Regions from separate parts of the Homo sapiens genome. Here all the other regions are linked to region 1. The links are contacts of gene promoters, found by promoter capture Hi-C in human tissues and cell types (Jung and others, 2019). All regions are on one chromosome and are shown on one strand. Each heading gives the region's core, a stretch centred on a gene start or on the middle of the fragment in contact. The rest is flanking DNA. Distances are from core to core; before and after follow the strand shown. Region 1 holds the start of RPS6KA1 (ribosomal protein S6 kinase A1). Region 2 overlaps ARID1A (AT-rich interaction domain 1A). Region 3 overlaps ARID1A (AT-rich interaction domain 1A). Region 4 overlaps ARID1A (AT-rich interaction domain 1A).

The links. Contacts are between HindIII fragments. The study calls those that stand out against the background at their distance.
Region 2: a fragment that was not itself captured here is called in contact with the fragment with the promoter of RPS6KA1 in region 1 in 3 of the 25 tissues and cell types used here (IMR-90 fibroblasts, dorsolateral prefrontal cortex and spleen).
Region 3: a contact is called between a fragment that was not itself captured here and the fragment with the promoter of RPS6KA1 in region 1, in 1 of the 25 tissues and cell types used here (IMR-90 fibroblasts).
Region 4: a contact is called between a fragment that was not itself captured here and the fragment with the promoter of RPS6KA1 in region 1, in 2 of the 25 tissues and cell types used here (dorsolateral prefrontal cortex and mesenchymal stem cells).

What each region holds. Positions count from the first base shown.
Region 1 is chr1:26,528,027-26,531,950 of GRCh38, forward strand. RPS6KA1 (ribosomal protein S6 kinase A1) reads left to right here and starts at 1,735. Exons shown (of 22, transcript NM_002953.4): 1 at 1,735-1,957. The coding sequence starts at 1,895. LOC124903884 (a long non-coding RNA gene) reads right to left here and starts at 3,372. Exons shown (of 2, transcript XR_007065558.1): 1 at 3,172-3,372; 2 at 1,094-2,535. RefSeq lists a silencer at 1,620-2,099 and enhancers at 2,341-3,251, 3,252-3,924. The HindIII fragment of the contact is 11,905 bases long and covers 1-3,924 here.
Region 2 is chr1:26,704,568-26,708,537 of GRCh38, forward strand. All of the region lies in intron 1 of ARID1A (AT-rich interaction domain 1A), which reads left to right. Among named protein-coding and RNA genes, the nearest start is that of ARID1A, 11 kb to the left of the region's middle. RefSeq lists an enhancer at 2,849-3,348. The HindIII fragment of the contact is 8,241 bases long and covers 1-3,970 here.
Region 3 is chr1:26,739,294-26,743,457 of GRCh38, forward strand. All of the region lies in intron 4 of ARID1A (AT-rich interaction domain 1A), which reads left to right. Among named protein-coding and RNA genes, the nearest start is that of ARID1A, 45 kb to the left of the region's middle. RefSeq lists a silencer at 393-442. The HindIII fragment of the contact is 4,361 bases long and covers 1-4,164 here.
Region 4 is chr1:26,768,388-26,772,545 of GRCh38, forward strand. It overlaps ARID1A (AT-rich interaction domain 1A), which reads left to right. Exons shown (of 20, transcript NM_006015.6): 12 at 2,732-2,939; 13 at 4,113-4,158. Among named protein-coding and RNA genes, the nearest start is that of PIGV, 17 kb to the right of the region's middle. RefSeq lists an enhancer at 3,787-4,158. The HindIII fragment of the contact is 7,519 bases long and covers 1-4,158 here.

The DNA of each region.
Region 1 (3,924 bases), core at 485-2,984:
AACCCAGAATTGTTGGGTTCCAAAGTCCTTTCACTCAAAATTCAGTTCAACAGCTGAGGTCCTACCCTGGGAAAGCCATGGAAAAGGGGGAGCACGTGGATTCTGGAGAAATCCTTATCCACTTTGATTTTTTTTTTTTTGAGATGGAGTCTCTGTCGCCCAGGCTGGAGTGCAGTGGGGGCTATCTCCGCTTACTGCAAGCTCCGCCTCCCGGGTTCACACCATTCTCCTGCCTAAGCCTCCCGAGTAGCTGGGACTACAGGTGCCTGCCACCACGCCCTACTAATTTTTTGTATTTTTAGTAGAGACAGGGTTTCATCATGTTAGCCAGGATGGTTTCAATCTCCTGACCTCGTGATCCGCCCGCCTCGGCCTCCCAGTGCTGGGATTACAGGTGTGACACTTTGATTTTTTTAAGCCCTAGTCTGTTCTCAACCTCTTGTGTGACCTTGGGTAAGTCACTTCATCTTTCCGAGCTTGTTTCAGGATTTGTAAACTAGGTGGTGGTAATCATTCAAGGAAATCACATGGCTCGCAGGAAGCTTTTGATAAACATTCCTTCCCATTCCCCTGCCTTAGAACAGCTTTGCAAATAACTGACCAGTCTTCCTGCGAAACCAGCAAGCTTGTCCCTCCAGCAAGCTCACTCCTCACATGTGAATACATCTCAGCACACCCGGACCCCTAAGGCTCTTTAGGTGGAGGCTGAATCTCTCTGGGGCAACCAGTCTCCCTGGCCTTTCACTCCAAGTCCCACCAAGCCTCGGTTCATCCTGGGAGCCTGGTCCCTCCTCAGAGAGTCGCAAACCCAAACTAGTCCAGAGCTGGGGCTGCAGGTGACTCCAGGGAGACCTGACCTGAAAGGACCCCCTTCAAGTGATAGGGCAGAGCACAGATTGCAAAAACGCATATTAAGAAATCACTCTTGGCCGGGCGCGGTGGCTCATGCCTGTAATCCCAGCACTTTGGGAGGCCGAGGCAGGAGGATCACTTGAGCCGGGGAGTCAGAGACCAGCCTAGGTAACAAAGCGAAACTTCGTGTCTCTCTCTCTCTCACTATATACACACATACATACATATATGTGCATATATATAATATTTATTTATACATATTTATTTATATATGTAATATTTATATACATTATGTAAAATCAATCGATCAATCAATCACTCTGTGGTGGCACTATGGGTCCTGATGGTGGTAACAACTGCTGATGCCCATCTTGGCCTGGGGCACTGAGATCGCCCGGAGATCACAGTGTTAGCTTCAGGGCGGGGTAGAAATTAGAGGATAGGGGATCTCTAGGGCCTGGTGAGTTGAGGGCCTAAGGGGAGTGGGTCTCAGGCTCCTTCCAAGCCTCAGCCTAGATCAGGCCCAGGAACCCAGTGTGAATGTGTGTGCTGGGGTCGGGGATAAGGTGCTTCTCTCCCGTTGGAAGGAGAAGGAACATCTGGGCTGGGATTCCAAAAGAGCTGAGCGGGGGAGAACGGTGGCCCTGGTGTGGTGTGTCCAGGGGTACACCACTGGAAGGGAAGGAGCCAGCAGGGCCTCTCCGGCGGAGCCGAGCGCGGGCCGGGGGCTCGCGGCAGGGGCGGGGCCGGCCCTCGGGGCGCGGCGGGGGCGGGGGTCCGCGCTGGGAATGCCGCGCCGCGGGGGCTGGGGCGGGGCTTCTCCGGCTCCGCCCCCGCGCAGGTAGCCAATGGGCGCGGCGGCGCCGGGTGACGGAGGGAGCCGAAGTGCTAGTGCCGCGGCGGCGGCGGCGGACGGCCCAGCCGGAGCGCGAGGGGCTCGGGGGGGCGCGGCGGTTCGGGTCGCAGAGCCAGGGACCCCAGGACCCGGGAGGCGGCGCAGCCGGGGCCGCCGGAGGAGCGCGGGTGACCTGGCGGCGGCGAGATGCCGCTCGCCCAGCTCAAGGAGCCCTGGCCGCTCATGGAGCTAGTGCCTCTGGACCCGGAGGTGAGTGAGCGGGGCGGGGGACGGGCGCCCGCGGCCGGCGAGCCCGGATCCTCACAGGGGCGGGGCGGCCCGAAGCGCCGCTGCAGTCCGGCGGGCGCCCGCGAGGGCGCGAGTGCCCTCCGATCTCTTGCCCACTGTCCGGCTCCACCCCCCTATGCCCGGGTGTGCGTGTGCGAGGGACAGTTCCGCCAAGCGCCGACTACCTCCCCGCCATAGCCAGGAGAGGGGATCCTATGGGGCGCTGAGATCTGGTCGCCTTCACCCCACACCTAGGACCCGTCCCGGCATCTGTCCAGAGCTGTCGGAGCTTCCTCCATTAATGCAGACGGGGAGATCTTCAGTGCCAGATGTCTGGGATTCTACCAGAGACAGGGGTTATGGGACCCCCACTTCTCCCAGGGCCCTCCGCCAAGAGCTCCCTGCTTCTGGCTTCACCGCTGCTGAGCCTAGAAGGATTGCTCCTCTTGACCCCTGGCGGATGCGGAGTGTGGGATGGCACCACCCGTCTGGGGCTGGAACTCCTGGTTTTCTTTGCCCTGAGGCTAGGGCCAGAGGACACCTGTGTGCCCTACCCCAGGCTGTGGAGACGAGAGTGGGGAAGAGCCCTTAGACCTTGTGAAGATGATTCCTGGCAGGGCGTGGGGGGACCTTGGTGCCTGCCTCCCTTCTTATGCCCCTTCCGGTAGGAAGGGCTGGGCCCTTGGGGAGTTTGGCTTCTGCCAGCCCAGACTCCCCAGACAACCCAGCTCCTTCTCTCTCAGAAGCAGCTCCTGACCTCCCTTGAGGGCTCTGTGGCTCCAGTCCCTAAGCGTGCAGAAGGCCACCTCTTCCTGTGCCTTTTGACCCCAGGGTCAAGGTCAAGCCCCTGAATGAGCTGGTGGAAAACTTCCTCCTTAACCTCTTGCTGGGAAGGAAGCAGGTGATATTCTCCTTCCCAGGTGGTTGTTGGGGGTATGCAGGGAGGGAATGGAGACCTCATTTGAGCCCAGGAGCTGAGATGACTTTCTCCCAGCTTGGGCCTGGAGCCCCTGTCTCAGTCCCCTCCTCTGCCCTCTCTTACCTAGGGCAGCCACCAAGTGTCCTGCCTCTCAGGACCACAGGCTTAGATCAGGGTGAGCACCCAGGGTCCCCAGCCCCCAGGGTGTGCTGCCCCTTTAAAGGGATGGCCGACACTGGCTATTGGAGGGTGGGCGCGGCAGGATTAGGTAACCAACCTGAAGGAGCAATTTGGAGTAAATTGCTCTGGGATTCCTGCCATGGGGATTTTACAGGCACTGCTAGGCTGCTCAGAGGTTCTCTCGCTGACTCACCCTCTGAGGTGAGGAACACTGCCCTCTGCAGCCCCTGTACTGCCACCCCGCTACTAGGACCGGGGCGCAAGGTCCTGGGGGTGGTGCTCAGAGGTGGATTCCTTTGCCCAGGCACGCCCCTGGGACCAGGCCTCCAAAGGAGAAGGTAGGGCTGGGAGAGGCTGGGGAGTGACTTTATGCTGATAGGGAGGGTGGACACCCAGGAGCTCGATCCTGGGGCACCACTTCCTGCTTCTCTTTAGGGAATCCTGAGGCAGGGGCCAGCTTCACCAGGGAGCCAGGTTTAACTGGGAAACTCATCTCAGTTTTGAGTTCTGTAACATCTCAGGTCTGTGAGAGGGGAAGACCAGCGGACTTCCTGGGATTGGTGGGGCAGGGGGACGCAATTTCCTCAGGAGCTTCGCTCCAGAAACGATGTGTGATCCTCAGTCAGTCCTCAGCCTGTCTGGGCCTCTGCTTCTCCAGTGGCAAGTGCTAGGTTCTAGCCTCCACTTCCTGGGCCTGAGAGGGTGCAGAGCGCTGGGTACTGTTGTCTGGTCCCCCCTCCCCCACTCCTGGAGGTGCCAGGCGACTGGGTGTTATTGTTTGGGTAACAGGAGCCACAGGGCAGCCACGGCGCAGGTTGGGCTGTTCTCACTGGAGAACAGGGCCTCGCTG
Region 2 (3,970 bases), core at 134-2,633, 180 kb after region 1:
CTGTTTTTGGCCGGGCGCGGTAGCTCACACCTATAATCCCAGCACTTTGGGAGGCCAAGGTGGGAGGATTGCCCAAGCCCAGGACCAGCCTTGGGACCAGGCTATTAACATAGGGAGACCCCATCTTTACAAGACACAAAAATTGCTGGATGTGGTGGTACGTGCCTGTAGTCGCAGTTTACTTAGAAAGCTGAGGCAGGAGGATTGCTTGAGCCCAGGAGGTTGAGGCTGTTGTAAGCCATGATTACGCCAGTGCACTCCAGCCTGGGCAATGGAGCCAAGACCTTGTCTCAAAAAAAAAAAAAAAATTTGTTTTTTATTAGGTTACTATGGCCAAGCAGCTAACAAATGCTGCTCACCAATGCTTAATCCTTGTGGAGCCTCTGGAATATAGTGATTTTGGTTTCTTTACCTGCTGGTCGATCTGTGGTTGGGCCTTGGCACTTCACCGGTCAAGGATCATCAGTGGATGCTTAACAGCTGAAGATGCATGGCATGTCCAGTGCCAGGCCACTGTAATGCTTCTACCTGGAGAAGGATTGGTTACACTGCTCCAGTACAGAAGTACTGCAGACCTTTTTTTTTTTTTGAGATGGAGTCTTACTTTGTCACCCAGACTGGAGTACAGTGGTGCAATCTGGCTCATTGCAACCTCTGCCTCCCAGGTTCAAGCGATTCTCATGCCTCAGCCTCCTGAGTAGCTGGGATTATAGGCTTCCACCACCATGCCCGGCTAATTTTTGTATTTTTAGTAGAGGTGGGGTTTCATCATGTTGGCCAGGCTGGTCTTGAACTCCCAACCTCGGGTGTGATCCACCCACCTTGGCCTTCCAAAGTGCTGGAATTACAGGTGTGAGCCACCACGCCCAGCCTTTTTTTTTTTTCCCCCCCCCTCAAGTAATGGTCCATGACCTGCTGAAAGTACTGGAGTCTTGGATAAACATTCTGGTTTAGAAATACCTTTTCCACTTTTTTTGCCTTGCCATTTTGGCATTTTGCAAAAGTGGGTTTTCAGTTACTCAGAATTGGGCACCATAGTTAACCTCCTATGGATTACAGGTGTTTAGGGGCTTGAACTCTGATCATTCCCAGGTTTTAGAGGAATCCAAGTTCGGGTGAATATTGACTTAGTAGCCTTGAGTATTCTTCCTGAAATTACCCCTCCTCTCCATTTAAATGGATGAAATTAGTTTTTTACTGAATGTGAAGGGACATCTGAATGAACTTCTGTTTGTTTTTGTTAGTCACTTGTGCATAGCTGGAATATTATCTTGGGACAGGTTGAGTCTATTTCCCAGTGGCTTCTGCATTTTCTAAGGGTGGACTGGAATGGGAAGAAGTCTAATGCCAAGAATGCATTCCAACATGCTGCAGAGTAGGAAATTTGATCCCTAAAATGTTGACTTAGTGTTGGTCATGGTACATATTAGAAATCACCCAGTAATCCAGGACAGATTTTTGTCACCCTCCAGGAAGTTATGTTGATATAAATACTAAGGGGCTTTGGGTACTGAGCTAAGTGCTCTGCAGGCCCAAAGCGCTGCTTGAATTGCTACCCATATGAAGAGGAAATGTGCCATGTGCCTTTTTTTCTCTCTTTTGCATTTGGGCTTCCTTATGGCTTTGTTGCTTTTATGTTCCCAAGTCTGCAAAGTTAGATATTAGACTTCCTCCTCCCTTGGCACTGGCAGATTCATGATTTTCCATGGCTCATCACTAGCAGCCAAGATTTTTGTATGCTTTTCTCTCTTAAACTTGTTCGTTTTCAGCTTGCTTGTTTATAGGCATCTCTGTTAAAAGGAACCCTTCTTTTCCCCTTAAGATCTAGCACCAGGGGTGCTTGGGGGTTGTTGTGATATCAGTCAATTAAAAGCCCATTTGGTGTGTGCTTGGTGTTTTTATTTTGCTCATGTTTTCTTTGAGGTCACAACGTGCTTGCCGGGCATGAGTGCCTTTGGGCCCAGCTGTTTACTCTCAACTGCCGTGTACTTTGACTTTAAGAAAAGTGCAAATTCAGCCACGTGGTAGAGGGATTAAAGGCCACATAGTGTTGGATGCTTCCTTTTGGAAGAAACAGATATATCTTTGGGCTCTTCTTGCCCAGTGATTTCTCCTGTCTGGGGTAGACATTGTTGCTTTCTGTTGTCCTTAGAGAACAGGGCAGAAATGCTGGGAATTGGTTTATTACTGTGTCTCTTTGGCAAATATGTATGTCTTTTTCTCTTGCCCTTTGGACAACATTCTGTTCTGGTCCTAAGGTGTTGGAGTTCACAGGTTGATCTAGCGTTATGTGAAACTCTTGGTAATTTAGGTTTGGATAACCGGCTTTTAGTCTCCAGATTTCTAACATTGTGCTTGTTTAGGAATTTAGGCTTCTAAAGAGAACCATATTACAAAGCTTTTGGGGAACAATTCTGTAGGTAGTTTATCTGTTCTTGGGTCACAGATCCTCACCAGGATCCTGACTTTTTTTTTTTTTTAGACGGAGTCTTGCTCTGTCACCCAGGCTGGAGTGCAGTGCAGTGGGGCAATTTCAGCTCACTGCAGTCTCCGCCTCCTGGGTTCAAGGGGTTCTCCTGCCTCAGTCTCCTGAGTAGCTGGGACTACAGGCATGCGCCACCGCGGCTGGCTAATTTTTTTTTTTTTTTTTTTTTTTTTTGAGATGGAGTCTTGTTCTATCGCCCAGGCTGGAGTCCAGTGGTGTGATCTCGGCTCACTGCAACCTCCGTCTCCCAGGTTCAAGTGATTCTCCTGCCACAGCCTCCCGAGTAGCTGGGACTACAGGCGCCTTCCACCACGCCCTGCTAATTTTTGTATTTTTAGTAGAGATGGGGTTTCATCATGCTGGCCAGGCTGGTCTGAAACTCCTGAGCTCGTGATCTACCCGTCTCGGCCTCCCAAAGTGCTGGGATTACAGGCATAAGCCACCACGCCCGGCCTAATGTTTGTATTTTTAGTAGAGATGGGGTTTCACCATGTTGGCTAGGCTAGTCTCGAACTCCTGACCTCAGGTGATCCGCCGGCTTTGACCTCCCAAAGTGCTGGGATTACAGGCGTGAGCCACTGTGCCTGGCAAGGATCCTGACTTTCAAATGATGGCCACCATGCATTTGAGTACTTATTATGTGCTAAGCATTATGCTTAGTCCTCTTGATGAATTTCCTAATTTAATCTTCAAAACTGTATAGGAGGTGGGTTCTATTATTAATCTTCCTCTTTTACAAATGAGGAAATAGAGTAAGATAAGAAATTTGCCCTAGGGAAAATAGCTGGTAAAAGGTAGAGTTGGGTTTGTCTGACAAGGTAGACAAGGTTTGTCTGACTCTTCAAAGGTATTACAATCTAAAATACTAACTTTGCTTCTCCAAAATAAATTACTCAGGCACCAAGATTGTTTAGGACATTATTTTTACAATAGCCTGAAACTCTTAAATGGGGTGAAAGACTGAAAAGCCATTAGTTAACAATTTGACATCGTGCCTAGAGCTCTGTCCTGTCATTCCCTTCCATCCCTTCCACTTAGGGTTTTGTTGTTTTGGATTTCCGATGAATGGCCATGGCACTTGGTTTATAGCTGCCTTGTGATTCCATTGGTGAGAACTGGCAGCATCTGGTCCTCTGGTCCCCGGTCCTCTCTTTCTCAAGAGGGATCTTTTGGGGTTGAGAGTGAGATTCAGCCTTTAAGATACAGTCCTTCACTTTTTTTTTTTTTTTTTTTTTTTTTTTTTTTTTTTTGAGACGGAGTCTTGCACTGTCGCCCAGGCTGGATTGCAGTGGCGTGATCTCGGCTCACTGTAACCTCTGCCTCCTGGGTTCAAGTGATTCTTCTGCCTCAGCCTCCTGAGTAGCTGGGATTACAGGTGCCCACCACCACGCCCAGGTAATTTTTTGTATTTTTAGTAGAGATGGGGTTTCACTGTGTTGGTCAGGCTGGTCCTGAACTCCTGACCTTGTGATCCACCTGCCTCGG
Region 3 (4,164 bases), core at 888-3,387, 210 kb after region 1:
TGATCTGAAGAGGTTAGCTAGTGCTTCACAAACTTTAGCGTGTGTTAAGAATCACCTGAATTACTGCCTCTACCTGAGAAATTCTGATTCAGTAGGTGTGGGCTGGGACCTAAGAATTTGCATTTCTAACAAGCTCTGAAGTGGTACAGATGCTGCCAGTTCAGAAGACCACAATTGGAATGAGACTGAAGTAGGTAGTCACCTTTAAGGGAAGGAAAAAAAATTACTAGACTAGGAAGCCACAGCGGTAACTAGAATAATAGTGGTGATTTACACTGTAGTTTGACTCTTGATTATTTGGAAGGCACACTGTGGGTTAAGAATGGTAGAAAGAAAAGAGACTTGAAAGAAACTAGACTTCCTGTAGCTGTGGCCTCAGTGCAGTTTATTCCTGGGTAACGGAGCCCTTGCCCTGCCAGTACCACCCTGGGAGCTCCTCTGCTCTATGGTGCTCATCACTGGATCCCTTCCTTTAGTGGGGCCAAACTTAGTTGGTCACCAAATCTTAGTCTACCACAGAAATGGTTTTTGCTTTTGAATCTGGTTTCCCCTCTCTTTCTCCACTGCCTTTTGTTTTTTCGGGTCCCTGTTATCTCTCACCTGGTGTCTTGCCACAAACTTCTGACTGTTCTGTTTCTTTTCTTCCTCTTTTCCTTCCAAGTCTGTCCTCAGCATAATCACCAGAGTGATCATCTTAAAAAAAAAAAAAAAGAAAAAAAAAACCTGGCCAAGTTATGTTAATGCTTTAAAACCTGGCTACGTGTTGTCTGTAGATTTAAGTCCAAGTGTGACATACAAGTAAGTTTTTTTGGGATCTGGAGGATGAGGAGAGATGTAGGTAAGTTTCCTGTCCCTGGAGTAAAACCTGGCACACTTTTTGCTATGGGTGTTATGTAGAAGACAAACAGACATTTGACAAGGGTTGAACTTGTGTGACTTCTGAGGTCATTTGAACTCTTGGGTCCATGATTCCGAATATGATACGATGATTCCTAAAGGATCCTCCTGTGTTTCATTAGTAAAATAGACATAAAACAGAAGACCATGTGCCTGTATGTTATAATGAGTGCTGTCAGAGTTTGGTGAAGTCACTGATCCATTTATGTCTCAATAGTTGAAGGAAGAAGTCATGTTGAAGTTCAGTCAGTATGAGCTAGATGTGGATGTATTTAAGTGGTTAGTTACAAAGGGAAAGTCCAGCTTGAACAGAGGCCATGCAGGGATGGGGATGAGGTGCAGTATAGATACTTGGGGGCTGGTCAGCTTCCAGGGGTGGGAAGTAACAGGAAGGAAAGCTAGATCACAGGGATCCTGCTGAGCTTAAGCCATTTAGATCTGATCTTATGGGCTTGCAGATAGGTAACTGGGGCAATCATGTGATAAAACTAATGTTTTACAAAAATGATCCATTAGTTTGTAGTATGCTTTGAAAACGGGAGAGTCTTAAAGCAGTGGAATAAGTTAAACCGTAGAACTACTTCTGGCAAGAGGTATGGAGTTCTGGTCCTTCTGTCTCATTTGCATAGCCACCTGCTCCCACATGTGGAACATGCAGGAAAGAATACAGGACTGAGAATAAGTGGGTTCTGTGTGGTGGAATATTTAAAGATTTTGATTGACTGGTGGGCAGGGGGAGTCTCATTTTTGAGGAAAAGTTAAATTCCATATTTATTTTGTGGAATATAATATAGTAAGATTTCTGAAAACAAATGTCCAGTTTCTAGTTGGAGATAAGAAACTGAAACTTGGGTAAGACCTGAGTCTGGATACAAGTTTGCGAGTTACCTGTGTGGTAGTTAATAGTTAAACCATAGAATGAAACAGGCCTCCTAAACTGGAGTTTAGAGATAGAAGCCAGATGGAGCTCTGGACGATGCCGGAGGCCATCAGGTAGAAGCAGCCAACAGAGAGTTGGAGAGATCGGAGAAGGACCAGGATTGTGTAATATTTCTGGAAGCCAAGGGAGGAGGGACGAAGTCAAATTTATATTTCAAAGAAAATAGGTAGTTGGGTTTGTCATAAAGCATTTTATTGGGATCCTTTTTAGATAAGGAAAAGGCCTTATTTCTGAGGGCTTGAGAAAAGGAAATGAGCAAGGGAAAGGGAAAGAGCACTCTTGAAATGCACTGAGAAAAAGGAGAGTCTGGCTGAATCAGTCCAATTCCTCCGCTTCATCCCAAAGACCCGCATGTGTATAAGGCAGATGGAAGAGGGAAAAGTGAAGGTGCTGGCAGAATATTAGGAGGGTATAAACAGGCACATCTTTCTGGAGTTGTGAGAAAAAGGAATCAAAGGCATCCACTGGATTAATTTCTAAGGGACGCTATACCCTTGGCTGAAAAAAAGGTAATCTTAAAGACTGTTGTTGAAGATTGGATCATACTCATTTCCTCAGGTTAGGTAGGAGTGAATGTTATCGATATCAGGAGGGAGGTGGAGAACAGAATTAGGATCTGTAATGTCTATCAAATTATCCCTTGAGTTTCTGAGCCATTCTTTAGATTTCACTTAACATCTTAGCTATTACCCTTCGTATTTTTACTTCTGTAATGCTCTCAGACGCTGAGATCTTGGAATTACATTGGTCTAGAAAGAGGAAATGCGAGGGAGCTATGCTGTCCCTGTAGAATCCAGATTTTAGAGGGCAGGAGTAAGGCCAGGCAAGGAGCTACAGTCAACATCAGTTATTCTGAAAAGATAGGAATTGGAAGGTACAGAATACCCACTCCTGTTTTACATATGAAAAACCAAGGGTCAGAATCAAGATTTGAATCTAGCTCTGATATTTCAGGTGAAATATTTCCTCCAGCATCCCACCCAGTAGAGGAAAGACATGGACAATCTGATCCTCTCTTCATTTTTAGGCAAAAAACTCAACTCTTTGCCATTTAGCATTTGCTAGACTTGTCCTAAAAGGAATGTCAATGGATTTCCATTTTACTTCTGTTTTCCCAGACATCCCTGTGATGGAGGCACAGATGAGCTGTGGAAAGAGCGAGTGGTAGGAAAGATAGCCAAACCTATAGGACCTGCTTGGAGGAACTAGCCAACTAGGGAATCGCCTCAAACAGTGAACCGTTGACTAGAGTTTGGTTATTTGGTTCCTGTGTGGGATGAGAGCAAGCCCTGTTCTGTGTCTGTCTTCTTAGAACATACTGTCCTGGTCAGTGCTAACTTTAATCAGTTAGATCCTTGCTACTCAGTGTGGTCCATTGTCTAGAAGCACCAACATCACCGGGAAGCTTGCTAGAAATGTAGATTTTCAGGCCCCATCCTAGATTTATTGGATCTAACTGTTAATAAGATCTCTAAGTGATTCATGTGTCTAATGGTTTAGAAGCACAGAGACCCTGAGAGCTGAGAGTAAAATTTTCAAATGAAATATCAAGCTGGTAGGCCAGGCACGGTGGCTCACACCTGTAATCCCAGCACTGTGGGAGGCTGAGGCGGGTGGATCATGAGGTCGGGAGTTCGAGAGCAGCCTGACCAATATGGTGAAACTCCATCTCTACTAAAAATATAAAAATTTAGCTGGGCGTGGTGGCATGCACCTGTGATCCCAGCTACTCAGGAAGCTGAGGCAGGAGAATCCCTTGAACCCGAGAGGCGGAGGTTGCAGTGGGCTGAGGTCGCGCCACTGCACTCCAGCCTATGTGACAGAGCGAGACTGTCTCAAAAAAAGAAATATAAAAAATATCAAGCTGGGGCTTTGGAACGTCATAAATTTTACAGATTGTATCCAGTAATATTTAAGTAATCTCTGAGTGTGGGAGACCACCACCAGTTGTTTCGTGCGTGTTTTGGGGACCCTGGCTCCCAGTGCCTTACCCAGTTCAGAACCCATAGTGGAGCCATCCACAGCTCCCAGCATACCTCTGCAACTTCATCTCCAGCCACTCATTTGTACCTTAAGCTCCTCACAATTCCTGGTCCTCTTGATTAGGATGTATACCTGTTTCTCTCTCTTTCTGTCATGCTCAGCAAACTTCTACTTTGGCTTCAAAACCTAGCTGGAATACTCTCTCTGAGACTTCTTCCCCATTTTCATATTGGCATAGCCTTATGCTGGTACCTCTGCTTGAACTGTATCTGACATCTGTCATGTTGTGCCCAGAACAGGCAGATATTTGTAAACCTTTGTTGAATACCTCCTAGATTCTTGCT
Region 4 (4,158 bases), core at 199-2,698, 240 kb after region 1:
ACTCTGAACCTTAATTTCATTATTTGTAAAATACAAACAGTATGTAACAGTATATAACCCACTAGACTGTCAAAAGTTAGAAATAACTTTGGCTTTCAGCAAGGTTTCTGCCACATAAATCGGCCTGCAAGATGGTACAGAGGCAGCCAGAGTAGAAGTAGATCTTCCCATTCCTGGAAGCTTCCCAGTAGAGATAGGATTTCAGGAACTGCTTAGTAGAAATAGTTTATAATAAAGGAAGAAGTAGTAGGAAATTATGTGTTTAGTTATTCTGTATGGGAAACTTAAATGAAAACCTGAATTGGACACCACCCAGAGCTTGTGCCTACTCTGATACCTTACAATTTTGTAGACTCAGCCCAGGAAGCAAACAGGTGAGGCAGCACAGACAGACAGCAGACTGTGCCTTGCAGACTTCCCTCCTGTGTATGTTCTGTAGTCACCAGACCAGAAGCCTGCTGTTGGATCAGTTTGTGGCTGAGCTCGGGGAGGTGTGGCAGGGAGGGATTTATTCCAAACCTTCTAAATCAGAAGAGGAAAACAGCTGTCACCAGCAGAAAAGAAAGTGGTTGGAATGAAGCCAGCCAACAGTCAGTTATGAATTCCTTCTCCCTTCAGGCTTTATTCCCCTCCCCCACAAAGGAAAACAAAACAAAATAAGACACGTGCATACTGCCACATAACTGGCATGAGAAGCAAAGCCACGGAAGGCTTTTGAGGTGACTCCATGCATATTCCTGCCATTCTCCCTGATACTCAGATCTCATAGTCAAGCCTTCCCTGTCTATAGGGAAAGGGAGCATTGGGTTAGGTTTCGCTCACTTCTGATTGGGTGGGCTTCAGGGTTCACTGAACCTAGGATGAGGTACAGAGAGAATTCTAATGCCTGAGCCTGTCTTCCAGATTGGAAAAGGATGCAAACCTTTAAAATGCCGTGATTGTAACTGAACTTTTATAAAGGCAGTGATAATTCAGGGGCAAAAGAGTGCTATTTATAAGTTAGTTTGTGAAGGCTCCAAGAAAGCAAAGCTGAATCTTGAGCTTATCTAAAGGATTAGTAGGGTTTAGGTGGAAGAGTGGCCAATCCAGTAGACTGGCCTAGATGCCACGGAGATGGGAGAGAGTCTAGATATTTCCCACCAAGGCCATCTCCAACCATGAAGACTTAGCTCAGGTGTTACCCACTCTAAGAAGTATTCCTAGTCACCTCTGCCCCTCTAGGTTGTCCCCCTCTGTGCCTCTTTAAACTCTTCTTTCTAGTATCATAGGTATCATATCAGCAGACATTACAACCTATTGAACTTCCTTTGTGTATAGGGACTTGAAAACCCTTGTTCCCAGGCCTTGGGGGAACAGGCTTACCATATGGTAGATGAATAAGCATAAGAATACATGAAGAAGGAGACCTGTCCAGCTAGAGCAGAAAGACTAATTGTAGGGAGCATCTGGGGAATGGGCTTGGTCAGTGTGCCCTGAAGCTGAGGGAAGGAGGCAGAACTGTAGGTTGGCTGCTCGGGAGGTACAAAAGTCATAATAAGGCCCCGGGCCAGGCGCAGTGGCTCACACCTGTAATCCCAGCACTTTGGGAGGCCGAGACGGGCGGATCATCTGAGGTCAGGAGTTTGAGACCAGCCTGGCCAACATGGCCAAACCTTGTCTCTACTAAAAATATAAAAATCAGTGGGGTGTGGTGACAGGCACCTGTGGTCCCACTACTTGGGAGGCTAAGGCAGGAGAATCACTTGAACACGGGAGGCGGAGGTTGCAGTGAGCCGAAATGGCGTCACTACACTCGAGCCTGGGTGACAGAGTGAGACTCTGTCTCTAAATAAATAAGACCCTGAACACCCGGACCATCAGGACAGTGACTGGTAAGGGAAAGGGACCTGTGGTTATTTGTCAATGAGATATGTAGGGGAGCAGTGGCACAAGAATGTCAAATTTGCAGGGAGCCACCACCCCAAGAAAAAAATATGAGTAAATCCCAAGTTTGACAAAGCAAGTCAAGCAGGGTGGTCACTGATATTATCATGAGTCTCCATTTTATAAAATGTTAGTTTTTATTAGTGCATCTAAAATAGGATTTAGGGCCAGGCGCGGTGGCTCACGCCTGTAATCCCAACACTTTGGGAGGCTGAGGCGGGTAGATGACTTGACGCCAGGAGTTTGAGACCAGCCTGATCAACATGGTGAAACCCCGTCTCTACTAAAAATACAAAAATTAGCCAGGCGTGGTGGTGCACACCTGTAATCCCAGCTACTCGGGAGGCTGAGATAAGAGAATCGCTTGAGCCCGGGAGGCAGAGGTTACAGCGAGCCAAGATCACGCCACTGCACTCCAGCCTAGGCGACAGAGCGAGATTTATTTTTTCTGTCTCAAAAATAAATAAATAAAATAGGATTTAGATATCCAGATGATTTGTACACCACTTTTTAGCAGCGTACTAAAAAACCGGACTCTGAATTCTGTTCCAGTAGTAATGTGAAATTTGCCCTGTTGTGAATAAGCACAGTCTGATAGTTGCAGTGGAACATCCTGAGGGTAAAATGAAGCCAGCTGCAGATTTAACACTTCTTGTGGACTATCCACCAAGCAAGATTAACTTTTTCAATTACCTAAGAACTGTGGTTCTACAAAGATGAATACCTTACAGCCTGATGGGGCTTGGGGCTTATGGGCAGGAAAACCAGGCGGGAGATATACCTCGACTCCTTTGGTTTGGTTATACAGGTCAACAAGAACAAAAAATGGCGGGAACTTGCAACCAACCTCAATGTGGGCACATCAAGCAGTGCTGCCAGCTCCTTGAAAAAGCAGTATATCCAGTGTCTCTATGCCTTTGAATGCAAGATTGAACGGGGAGAAGACCCTCCCCCAGACATCTTTGCAGCTGCTGATTCCAAGAAGTCCCAGCCCAAGATCCAGCCTCCCTCTCCTGGTAAGGATGGGGTCAGCGGCCCCACCAAGGCTGAGAGGGCCTGTTGCCCTGGCCTCTTATTCAGGATATGAATAAGAGGCTTATCCAACAGGATATGCCAAGGATCTGTGCTCTGCCTTGCCCTACCACAGGGCTTAACAGGTTGGCTGACTAGAGAGTGGGCAGTGGAAACTCCCTTGGGAGGTACTCTACGGCAGCTCTTAAGTTTTAATTTTTGTTGTGCAGCTGACAACTTGCCAAATGTTTGTAAACTGGTGAATGGGAGGGGCACAAGAGGAGTCGGTGGAACTTATAAATGGCAGCAAGGCAGGGCCATCTGGGAGCTTTGGCCTATTGATGTCAGCACCTTAGAATGCAGCTCAGACTAGAGCCCTGAATTCCCCAGGGAGCTGAGATGGTAATGAATGGGAAGGAGGGAGTGGGGAAGGGTTATGAATGGAACTCCCTGATGGGAGTGGCTCTGCTCACCCTCCTTTCTGAGAGGAGGCTGAGGCCTAGGGTGAGCCTAGAGAGGGAAGAAGGCCAGGGTGCCTGGAAGGTGGGTGTAAACACATGTGCCCTGGTGTTGACCTCTGAGGGTGTAATGAGTGCCTGAGATGACTCATCAGCTGGGGAGGCCTCAGCAGTGGGATATCTACTGCTGGGAATGGTAACTATTGGAAACATTAATTACTAGTAGTTTTGTACTCATCAGCTTAGAAGAACATTTGAAGTTGAGGAGTGACACCATGCTGGATGCTTTAGAACAGGAGCTCCTAGACTCCTAAAATGCATCCCAGATTTGGGACCCCCTTCCCACCCAGGACTTGGGAGGCTCTGACTGGAGCTCATGCACCAGCATTACAGGGTTTAGTAGGTTAGACAAGGTCCTTTGGCGGAGTGAAGAGAAATAGCCAGGGAAGCTGGCAATGACTCAGGGAATCACCAGCATGGTGATGTCATGGCCACATCACTCCTCTTTTCTACACGTAAAACAAAAACAAAGAGCTACAAAACCCTCAGATTCCCGTCTTTATGACCTGGCCTTGTAGATCCTCTGCTAAGAAGGGTGATCAGGCTTTAAAGGCCTTAGGAAGAACTTTCCCAAAGAGATTCTGGGTCGTTCGTGTGTTTGTGTGAGAGTTAAACACTGTCATGCCAAGCAAACTACTCAACTTGTATCTCTGTCCACAGCGGGATCAGGATCTATGCAGGGGCCCCAGACTCCCCAGTCAACCAG